Linked DNA regions of Homo sapiens: all the other regions are linked to region 1. Evidence: promoter capture Hi-C in human tissues and cell types (Jung and others, 2019). All regions are on one chromosome and are shown on one strand. The core of a region is centred on a gene start or on the middle of the fragment in contact, and the rest is flanking DNA. Distances in the headings are between cores, read along the strand shown. Region 1 holds the start of OVCH1-AS1 (OVCH1 antisense RNA 1). Region 2 has its middle 12 kb from the start of LINC00941. Region 3 has its middle 47 kb from the start of LINC00941.

Evidence for each region. Contacts are between HindIII fragments. The study calls those that stand out against the background at their distance.
Region 2: a fragment that was not itself captured here is called in contact with the fragment with the promoter of OVCH1-AS1 in region 1 in 1 of the 25 tissues and cell types used here (spleen).
Region 3: a contact is called between a fragment that was not itself captured here and the fragment with the promoter of OVCH1-AS1 in region 1, in 1 of the 25 tissues and cell types used here (H1 embryonic stem cells).

The regions. Positions count from the first base shown.
Region 1 is chr12:29,387,414-29,390,952 of GRCh38, reverse strand. It overlaps OVCH1-AS1 (OVCH1 antisense RNA 1), which reads right to left and starts at 1,659. Exons shown (of 2, transcript NR_073172.1): 1 at 1,100-1,659. The HindIII fragment of the contact is 7,391 bases long and covers 1-3,539 here.
Region 2 is chr12:30,781,673-30,785,289 of GRCh38, reverse strand. No RefSeq gene overlaps it. Among named protein-coding and RNA genes, the nearest start is that of LINC00941, 12 kb to the left of the region's middle. The HindIII fragment of the contact is 4,641 bases long and covers 1-3,617 here.
Region 3 is chr12:30,840,506-30,844,409 of GRCh38, reverse strand. No RefSeq gene overlaps it. Among named protein-coding and RNA genes, the nearest start is that of LINC00941, 47 kb to the right of the region's middle. The HindIII fragment of the contact is 4,014 bases long and covers 1-3,436 here.

The DNA.
Region 1 (3,539 bases), core at 410-2,909:
AAAACAGTTATAATTTGAAAGAGTCTTCCAAATGTGAACATTCTGGCCTAGAACCCTTCCCATTTCCATCAACCCAGAATACATCAAATTTTCAGAAGACAATCTTTCCTAGGACTTGTAAAACAAAATGTACAAAATATATTAGTTTACTAACTCTACTTTTGTCATACACTGGCAACCTCTTTAACATCCAGAAAGACTAGATGTTGTCAATTAGGATTCGTCTGTCCTTTATGTACACTATATACACAGATAAGTAAAACAAAACGCACAGAGATAATGATTCATCTTGCCTCGCTGTAAACAGGATGTCATAGAGCTCTCTGCACCTCCCCCTCCTCTCTCTTCCCCTGAACCACACTGCACAATGAGCATTACTCAACAGGTGATTTGGCCATTCCCCCCAAAAAACATTTCCTATGATTTGTAACAAAAAGGTATTTACAAAATGTGATTTTGCTACCTCTAATTTTAACATATCAGGCACTTCAGAACATCTAAAAAGAATAGACATTTCAAAAAAGCTTAGCATTGTCAACTATATACACAGTAGTGAAGAATAAAATGCACACAAAACAATGGATAGAATATGAAAATGTCTTCTAAATATGACCAGTCTAGCACAGAACCTTCTTCTCTTCCTTCTCAGGTCTTCCACCTCCATGTCATCTAACCCACTTAACAAACGTGGACGTATCGCTTCCAGAGGCCGTCTTAACAACTCCATTTCTAAAAGTCATCTCCAGAAGACATGTGTTTTCTATGATTTCTTTTAAACAAATGAGAATTTACAAGATGTGTGACTTTCTATTTTATCATATGTCGGCAACCTCTTTCCATCTAGAAGGGCTAGATGTGACAAATGTTTTCTATTAAAAGGTTGGGGTGAAGTTGAGAGCAGCTTTTTCATATTATATACACAGGCCTTACATAAACGGCCAGTAAATCTTCCCAGAGGGTGGTGGGCATTTCCAACGGGCCAAACGTGGCCTGTCATTCTACCATTTCTCTCTTCTGACAGCAAAGTCTGGTAGAACAAAGACCAACCGCCCGATAGCCGCTAACCGTTCCACCCGTCGTCTTTCGGGACTTCACTCACCTTCCAGGCCCCTGAAGGCCTTTGTCCGTTGTCGTCAGGACTAGGTCGGTCTCGCCCAATGGCGACAGAGTGGTCACCCGGGAACCGGATCTGCGCGGCTCCGTGGCCTAAAGAGGTGGCCGAGCCTGCTTGCGTCCCTAGGCCGCCTTCCCGGGCCCTCCACGCCTTAATGGCCTCCGCCGCGCGGCGTTCAAGCGGCCGCCATACTTTCCGGCCCACCACGCCCGGCGCCGCCCAAAGGCGCTGCGTCCCAGCGACTCTGCGGGGGTTTCGTCGAGGCCCGGCAGGCTTGGGTCGGGAGACGCGGCGGCCGGCGGGGTCCCGTCGGGGAGACGCAGCCGCCGCCATCAGTCATCCAGGTGGGGTGGGAAAGAGAGGTTCGCTGCGGCTTCAAGGCCTGGGCACAGCCAGTGGGCAGCCACAGCAGAGGCCTCCGGTATCTGCAGGGCAGAGGCCTCGGCCTGTCCCGGGGCCCCCCAGTTCACCCGCCGGCCCGGGTCCGGAGGGCCTGGAGGGCCCTGGAGGAGCTGGCTGCGTTCTGCGTCTCTCCGCGCTCTCTGCCAGACCGGAACTGAAGTTAGATTTTTGTATCAGGAAATATAAAAATATCTTCTGCTCTGCTCAGTTGAATGTTCATTTTTTTCTCATAGCATCATGTTTTTTTCCTTTTCTTTATAATTAAGACAGTTCATCATGTACATAAAAATCACATACATGAAGGCACACACATACACAAATGTACTTGTCTTAGATATTCTCTTAGGTTCAGTTGGGTTTATTAATATATAAATATTAACAGGTAAAAATAAAGTAGTAATTGTTACAAGGATTGTTATAAGGCCTGTCACTCTGGAAGGCCACATTTGTGTCTCCAAAGTCCAGCACAACATTTTAAAGAAGGATGAATTTGAAAGTCATTGGATGAGACAAGTATGCTATCTTCATGACCCCTGAAAACATTTGAGTTTCACAGGTGATAAGATTTGTCAGCATTTCTGAGTATTTATTTGTGTCATATTATTGAAATTAAAATTTGACCATAGCATGTGAATTAAATAGGTTACCACTTTTTAATGTAATAGAGAACAATAAAATATTTATATTATGTCTTAGGCACTTAGTTTTAAAACCTCACCCACTTTTAGCATACAATTATGCTTTTAAAAGGTTTAAGAAATATAAAAAGAGCTGAAATGACTTAAAATATAGATTATAGAAAATACTAATAGATGAAATAAATACATTTATGATGAAAAGAAGAACAGATAATATTGATGAAAGAATATTTGGAAATGGAAAGTAAAACACTAAATTAGAATGTTGTAATCAATATAGATAAGTATTTGAAATGAAAAACGTATTTCAGCTGAGTATTTTTGCACTGAAAGATATTGGGCCTACGGTACAATATGTTAAATACATATAGTAATATATTATTGATAATTATTAAGACTATGTACTAACACCTATCAAGATAAATAACACCAGCCATATATTTTTGGGGAGTTTATTTATTGGATCCCTTTTTACCCACAATATATAGTACAAATTCCATGAGGGTAAGAGTGTCTGCTTTGTCACTATGACAAAGTACTTGGTACTTAGCACATCATTTGTCATATTAAAGGTGCTTAATGAAATGAATATTTGTTACAAGAGTGGCCAGACTGCAAGTTCAGTTGACAGATCTGTGGTTCATTTGAGCCTATTAATCCTATTAAAATATTGCACAAACAATGCTTTATAGATAGAAGTGATTACCTTGCTGAAACAGAGGTATCAGATGGCACAGACTGTGCATGGACTGAAAGTATTTATTCATCAGCTGATTATGAAATCTAAACTTGTCATGTGAAAAAGTGATATAAGACTTTTAAGGTCAGGCGCCATGGCTCACTCCTATAATCCCAGCATTTGGGAGGCCAAGGTGGGTGGATTATTTGAGGTCAGGAGTTCGAAACCAGCCTGATCAATACGGTGAAACCCCGCCTCTACTAAAAGTACAAAAATTAGCCTGATGGGGTGGTGGGTGCCTGTACTCCCAGCTACTTGGGAGGCTGAGGCGGGAGAATCGCTTGAACCCAGGAGGTGAAGGTGAAGGTTGCAGTGAGCCGAGATTGTGTCACTGCACTCCAGCCTGGGGGACAGAGTGAGACTCTGTCAAAAAAAAAAGACTTTCAAGTCCCAACTTGGCATATGAAAAAAAAAATGATTTGAAAGAGTAAACTACAATGTTTGAAAATGTAAATTTAAAATCAGACTATATCACTGAGGATCACCTGTGGTTGAAGCAAGTGATAATGAAGGCCTGGTGTATAGCATGAGATCGGGAATAGCCTCATGAATAAAACTGATGGGTCACTGGGATTGGCAGCTAGAGAAAAGGTGGAGGAGACACAAAAATTCTAACCTGGTTAAGTTTGAGGTTAATGGTGCCATT
Region 2 (3,617 bases), core at 1,029-3,528, 1.4 Mb before region 1:
CAGATTTTTAATCTACTGAGCTTAATGACCTTTTCTTCATATGAAGATTGATGTCAAAGTTCTTTCTTTCTTTGCTGCAGAGCTAAGGAAATAGGACTTACTTTTTTCTCTTCGATTACCTAGCCAGCCACTATACCCTTCAGGGTTCTCTTATTCTTAATATGCCTGAAAAAGTGTGGAGAGGAAATAGCTTTCTCAACTTCCCACTTCCTTGCTGCTTGGGAAGACAAGAATATATGTAGACAGGCCCTTCTGCTTCCAAGGAAAATAGGAAGGAGATAACAAATGATAACCAATATGAAGATGTGTCAGAAGTTCTGGAATTTTAAAATGACTTTCTGCCCTGGTCTTGTACCCCCGGTTTTTATTCCTGATTATGGAGCTCACACCCTCCCCACTTTCTCACTCCTCCTTTAGCAAACCCTTATGACTCTTCACACCAATTCAAGGTCTAAAAAGAAAATACAGCCAGCCAGAGATGGCCTCTTTCAGCATAAATTTTATTTTTACTTGTTAATGGAAATCTCCCTAAAACAAAATTGTAAGAGTTAAAGAAACAGGAAAGAGACACGAAATGTGGTTTGACAGTAAAGACAGGTTTACTTTTGATAAAACCTGAGAGGGGCTTCTGGCTGACTTTGGTTAGGAGCACTTTCTCTTACAGACTAAGAGAACATATTGGTTTTAGGGTAAGGGGGCTTATTAGAAGCTTGGAATGTTTCTGTGTGAGGGACAAGTTTTATGGTGGGGTTGGAATGTCTCTGGGAGGAGGGGAGTTTATCTTGGGGCAGACATCTTTCTGGCTTGGAGTGGGGTTATCTCGGAGCTGGCATCTTCCTGGCTGGCGGGGGGTTATCTCGGGGCTGGCAAGTCTCTGATTGGGGAGGAGTTTGGAATGTTTCTGGTTGGAGATGTTATTTGTGGTTATTGTGGTTTATGCTGACCTTAGCCATTAGGCTGATACCCTTTGGATTTAGGCGTTTTTTTTTTATTAAGGTGAACTTTAGAATGAGGGGCTTGTCCAAGATGGTGATGCTCCTGCTCTGTCAAAAATTTGTTTACTGTCATCTGGATTTTTGTTGATGGATCATTTAGTATTATTACAATGAACATTAACTGTTATATACTGCAACAAACAATGATGTCATGGACTTTAAAGACTGAAGATGTGTTTAGCCATTAAATGATCTAAGATGTCTAGGATTTTATTTCTTATATTTATATTTCTTTCTTTTCACTACCAAGTGATCAGAAAATCTGCCTAAATACCTTTTCCAATATTAGTTTTTACTGCTTTGAATTTTTTGCTTTTAATTTGTGAGGGCTGGGAAACCAGAAAATACGTTTGTTAAAATTGTGTTTTAAATGAGTACAGCAGATTAAGTTGTGTGATACTCAATGCTGATGAGGTTGTATTAAAGTTAGAACTTCCTGATTATTGTTTGAAAGCATTAATGTAATCCTTTGAGAAAGCAATTTGGCAACATATAACAAGATCCTTAAAATATTTATATTCTTTAATATAATATTCTTTTTTCTAGAATTAACATAAGAACTTAATTTATTGCCAAAGTATTTATCCACAATGAAATTTTAACGTAATTTATAATAAGGGAAAAGTGTAAATGATCTAAATATTTAATAGAAGAGTTTTCAGGTAAATTATAGAACCTTTAATGAAACTGTATATAGTCATTAAAACTGATTATACAAAGATTATGAAATAACTTTATCTTGTGATACATGAATATGATAGAATATTAAATGAAGAAGGTAATTCTCACATCCACTTGAGACCTTAGAAATGATGTAAAAATAATGCGTATTTTATATAAGTTATCTCATTTAAACCTCACAAAAAACCTCTAAAGTGAGTACTATTATTATCTACATTTAATAGATGAGAAAACTGTCACCAAGAGTTTAAGTAACTGGCAAATAATTGTCAGAGCTGAGATTCCAACCCCAGCAATATGGGTCCAAGAACCTGTGCTTATAACCACTGGGCTTTAAGCAGAGACATCTCAGTTTATGCTTGGTGTCCTAGCATGATTATTTATAGTGTCCCATTTCATTCTTAGAAGTCACAATTTGAATGATAAATCATATGGTTACACTAGCTCTACATGAATACATGGCCATGCTAAAAAAATAAGTAAATTATCAATAGATCAGAAACTATGGGGATTTTTTGAGACTAAATCCATGTAGAATCAGAGGAAAGAAGAAACTGGTAACCCAAACCAGCTGAGGGAAAGAAGAGCATGAGCACAAAGAATCAGTGACCAAGTGGGCCTCATGCCTGGAGGCTATCAAAGTCAGGATGGCATCCAGGAGCAATTGGTGTGGGAAGTAGTGGGTTACTATAGCAAGAATAGTGAGTTCAGTTGTAGTAGATTGCAAAAATGCTCACAATACATCTCCAAACAAGAGAGTAGGGAGATGTGTTCCCACCCCTTTGAATCTGGGTTGGCCCTGTGGCTCTCTCTGACTGAAAGAATGTGATAGAAGTGACACTGTGTGAATTCTGGACACTGCCACCAAGTGAACAAGCTTGGGCTAGCCTGGTGGAAGATGAAACCACATGGAGAAGGACCAAGTGTCCCAGCTGACAGGTGGCCACCTGCCAGACATCCAAGTGAGGCTACTTAGGATTCCTCCAACCCCTGCCTGCCCAGCGGATCAGCCAACTGCCAACTGACTGCATATCTTGCAGCTGACTGCAAATGCACGAACAAGACCATAGAAAAACTGCCAGGTTGAGCCTAGCCCAAATTGCTGACCTGCAGAATTGTGAGTTGAAGAACATTGTTATTTTAAGCCTCTGAGTTTTAGGGTAGTTTAGGATGTAGCAAAAGTGAACTAATATACCAAGAAGCCCTTGCAAATATCTCCAACTTCCACCCCTCAAAAGTCCGGGCAGTATTTATTTGGAGGTGTCTGTGACAGGCAAGAGCAGTGCTTGGGACAGAAGAGTAGTGACTATATGTCTAAAGTCATTTGGGAAAAATTAAGATCAACTGAGCCTGGAAAAACGAGCCATGATATATCACAGCCAATAAGATATGTAGTTCCTTCTAGAAGATAAATCACGTATATCATGAGATGAGATGAGAACATGGCAAATTTTGCCAAATATCTAAGTGAACTCTGTCTGTATCCAGGAATTATTCTTACTGTTATTTAATGTTGCTGTTAAAAAAGAAGAGCCTAACCATTAGGCCTGCCCCTCAGTATAACTCACATACTAGAATTCCAACTGACTGTTGCTACAGCCCATAAATTTTGCCCCCAGATAAGTAATAAAAAGAGTTAGAACGCTTTCCCCCTTGGAAGCAGACACTTGGTTATACCCATAGGTTTGGCTGTAAATTGCAGGAAAAGATCCTCTTTCACTGTCAAGATAATAAGATCTGGCTGGATGTGGTGGCTCAAACCTGTAATCCCAGCACTTTGGGAGGCTGAGGTAGGCAGATCACCTGAAGTCAGGAGTTCGAGACCAGCCTGGCCAACATGGCAAAACCCCATCTACTAAAAATAAAAAAATTAGCCGGGTGTGGTGGTGTGTGCCTGTAATCCCAGCTACTCGGGAGACTGAGGTGGGAGAATTGCTTGAA
Region 3 (3,904 bases), core at 180-2,679, 1.5 Mb before region 1:
AGAGAGCCTTGAGATTAAAGGACAGATTTGAGTTTGAGATTTGCTCCACTCTGTACTCACCAATCCGTTGAATGAATTCCCGGCCAATGCACCAAAATGATATGGCTCCGATGACTGGAGGAACACCAGAGTCCTTGGTCTCATGATGACCGACATGGACACAAGTCTGGAGTGGTTTTAAGGAGCAGAGAATTTAATAGGCAAGAAAGAGGAAAGGAAGAAGAAAACAGCTCCCCCATACAGAGACAGAGGGAGGGGGATCCAAGCAAAGAGAAACCCTGTGTGTGGCAGAAAAGTGGTTGGTTATACGGGAGGCTGGAGGAGGCGGTGTCTGATTTGTATAGGGCCCAAGGGATTGGTTTGAACAGGTGTGTCATTCACGTAGCTGGCAAAAAACCTGGCCATCCCAACTTAGCCCTTTAGTATGCACATGCGGGCCTGCCATGATGTCCCAAACATGTGGAGTTATCTGGAGGTGCCCATGACACTTGGCATACCTGGTGACAAGAAGAAGAAGGTGGGAATTGCCATATTGGGTGGACCCAGTTTCTAATGACGTGCATTTGCATATCAAAGCTTGCCCGCCTGGCCCTCTTTAAGTACCTTTCTGTTAGAAAAGAAATAGTTTGGAGGTTGCTTTCATTAAAAGAAAAACCCTGACTGAGAACTCCTTTTACCTTCTCTATCTGCCTGAAAATTATTTCTTAATAACTCCTGTATTAGCCCCACCATCCACCCAGAGTCACTCAGGCCAAAACCCTAGAGGTCCACCCTCGATTCCCTTCTCCCGTTTAACTCACATCCAATCCACCATAAAGTCTTGTCGAGATGACCTCTAAAGCATTTCCCAAATGGATGCAGCTTCCTCCCTCTCCACTATGTCCAGCCTGGTGAAAGCTACCATCACATCCTGCCTGGAGTACTACAGCAGCCTCTTGCTTGGCCTTCATATTTGTATTCTCTTCCCCTTTCGGGTGTTCTCCATAGACCATCTGGAGGTTGTCTTTTTAATCTAAGTTGATCACATCACCCTCCTGGTTAAAAGCTTCCAGGGGCTGTCCATCTGATTTGCAAAGAAATCCAGACCCCTCTCCCTAGAAGCTGCATAGGGCCTGGGTCCTGCGGACCTTGCCAGTGCCTGCCCTTGCCTCCCTCACCCCTCCTGGCAGTAGGCTTCAGCCATGGTTGTCTTTGTGTCTGTCCCCTAAGTTTGTTCCTGCCTTAGAGACTTGTATAAGCTTCCTCTTCTGCAATGCATGCCCCTGAAAGACAGTTAATTTCTTTTAATTGCCTGAGTTTAGCCTAAACATCATCTCTTTAGGCCCAAACTAGAGGTCCTCCCATCATTCACCTATCACAACTCCTGATTATATTTTCAATACATTATGTACAAGGTGATCTAAAAGTTTTCATGCATTTCTGTACTTGTATAGGAATGGCCAGTGATGACAGGTTCATCTTGACCAGTGATGAGAGTTTCCAGTTCTTCTTAGTCAGGAACCCAGATAAGGATTTGGGTTAATTTCCTTTCTTATCAGATGTGCCATGGAGCTTTTTCCCAGTCATTTTGGATCAAGCGAAGTCCTATTCCCAGATGCTTAGTAAACATTACTGTCCTGCATGCAATACCATCCTGGCCCTCCTGCCTCTAAACCAGGCATTATCTCCATCTGACTCTGCCATCTTGCTTTTTGTACTGTTTTGGCCTGTAGACCTCTAAGGGGATGGGCACCAAGGCAAAGGTCACTTGGCTTAGGTAATATCCTTGGGACCACTCTCCTTAGTAGCCCTGGAACTAGCCTTGCTAGGGTAAAATCCTAGGAGGGGCAAGTAGTTGTCCTCCAAAGCCACCCACTTTTAGTCTTTTTGCAAAACCTTCTTTTCTAGTCATATTCTCGATTTCTTCTAGACATGTTTTGTGATCAGTAAGTGTTGAGTGAAGGTATTGGTCAAAGGGGAAAATTTAGAGGTCAAGTCTATATCAGAGGGAAAGGGAAAGGCACCAAGAATATGCCAGTTAACACAATTTCTATTTAAGGGGCTAGAATGATACATTTAGGAGAAACAGCACAGGCTTCTAAACATGGTAGGACAAGAGAGTCAAACAAGAAGAAAACCCAGGCTGTTCAGTGGTGGGTTTGTCTTTGTCCAATATTAAGATTGAGAGCTTCTGACCAAGCTGAGGAAAAGCTAGATTGAGCTGCCTGGCATGTTCTCCCCTGGATAGCCTGGCAGCAGACACCCCCTGTGCTATGGCATTGCAAGGAAAAGACAGTGGGTAATTAAAGCCCGTGGTCATCTGGAGCTCAGCCACCTTGTGGTTCCCTTGGTTCCCTTTGGGGAAGGTTGGGGAACATGGGGAAGGGAGGGCTTTGTACCACAGAAAGGAATGGCTGGTAGGAATGGGAGATTTTGAGTGAAGCATAAAAAGTTATTTGGAGCCATGGGTTGGAGAGAGCCTCTAAGCATGGGGACCTCCTGCTCCTGCTTTTAATCAGACCAAGAGGGTAAGTAATAGATCCGGAGTTATATCCACATTGTCTCATGTGGCCTCCTCATTGTCATTGCTGCTTAAACAAAATGGGCATAGGGAGAGGGAAATGTTCATCCTCCTTGTGCCTCGGGAGGGTGCCGGGGTAGAGTGATCTTGGCAGCCTGTGGCTTCGTCACTGCCTCCCATGGGAGGACTGGGCCTGCCCAGAGCACAGAATAGTAATGGGTTGATACTATGCCTTTTTTATTTTTCGTCTCCAAACACAGGTGAATCACTTTGATTTAAGTTTCTTATAAAATGCTGTATCAGCTACTACTAGTTAAATGAGTTACTATTTGTCAAGAGCTTAGAACAGCACCTGGCACTGTCACATATTAATTTAGTAGCAATTGTCACCATGATTGCAGCTGTGGTGTTTCAGGTACTAACTTCTGGCAGCCTGTATAGATAATCAGCTCTCAGTGTTACTCCGGGGAATCAGGGCAATGCTTATCAGCTCAATTTGCCTGATGGGCTTAAAAGACATGAAAGGGAAAAGGTTGAGGGAACCGCTCCACATGCAGTTATTTGTTCTGACCAAATATCCGACATTGGTGCCTTCTGAAAATGAAATATGCTCCAATGGCCTCATGTACACATGCATGTGTTGCATAATGTGTGTGAAGTGTACCTCTGTTACTGAAACAGGATCCTATTTATTGACAATGGTGAAAGAAACATGAAGACGGTATTTATTGGGTCGGCTATGAGGTCATCAGACCACTTAGAGCCATCTCTGAGCCACCTAATACCTGGCCCCATTGATGGGGGGGGGGTCCCATATGATTCCACTTGGATTCAGAGACTAGGTTGATAAGCCTTCACAGTCAGGCCTCCTACTGAAATAGAATACTTGTTTTCTAGTCACAACCCTGCTAACCGAAACAGGATGCAGTCCAAACAGGTTAAAGTTAAAAAAAACAACAAAACCAGCAGATGGTGACAAAATGATTGCTAGCTGACCTCATTGCTCACTTGCATTAGACACTCCCACCAAGCGCCATGACAGTTTACAAATGCCATGACAACAACTCGGAAATTCCCACTCCTTTCCATGGCAACAACCTGGAAGTTACTGCCCTTTTCCTAGAAAGGTCTCAATAACCTGCCCCTCAATTTGCATTGACCCATCCTTTAACTTGCATATTATTAAAAGTGGGCTTTTGAGAGTATAAATATAGTTGACGAGAGTCCGTACACTGCCAACTCTAGGTGCACTGCTTATGAGTTAGCCCTACTCTGCAAGGAGCAGTACCAGTCAATAAAAGATTGCTAACACAATCGGCTCACCCTTAAATTCTTTCCTAGGCAAAGCAAAAATCTCTCCAGGGCTAAGCCCCAGTTTTGGAGCTTGCCTGTCCTGCATCACTA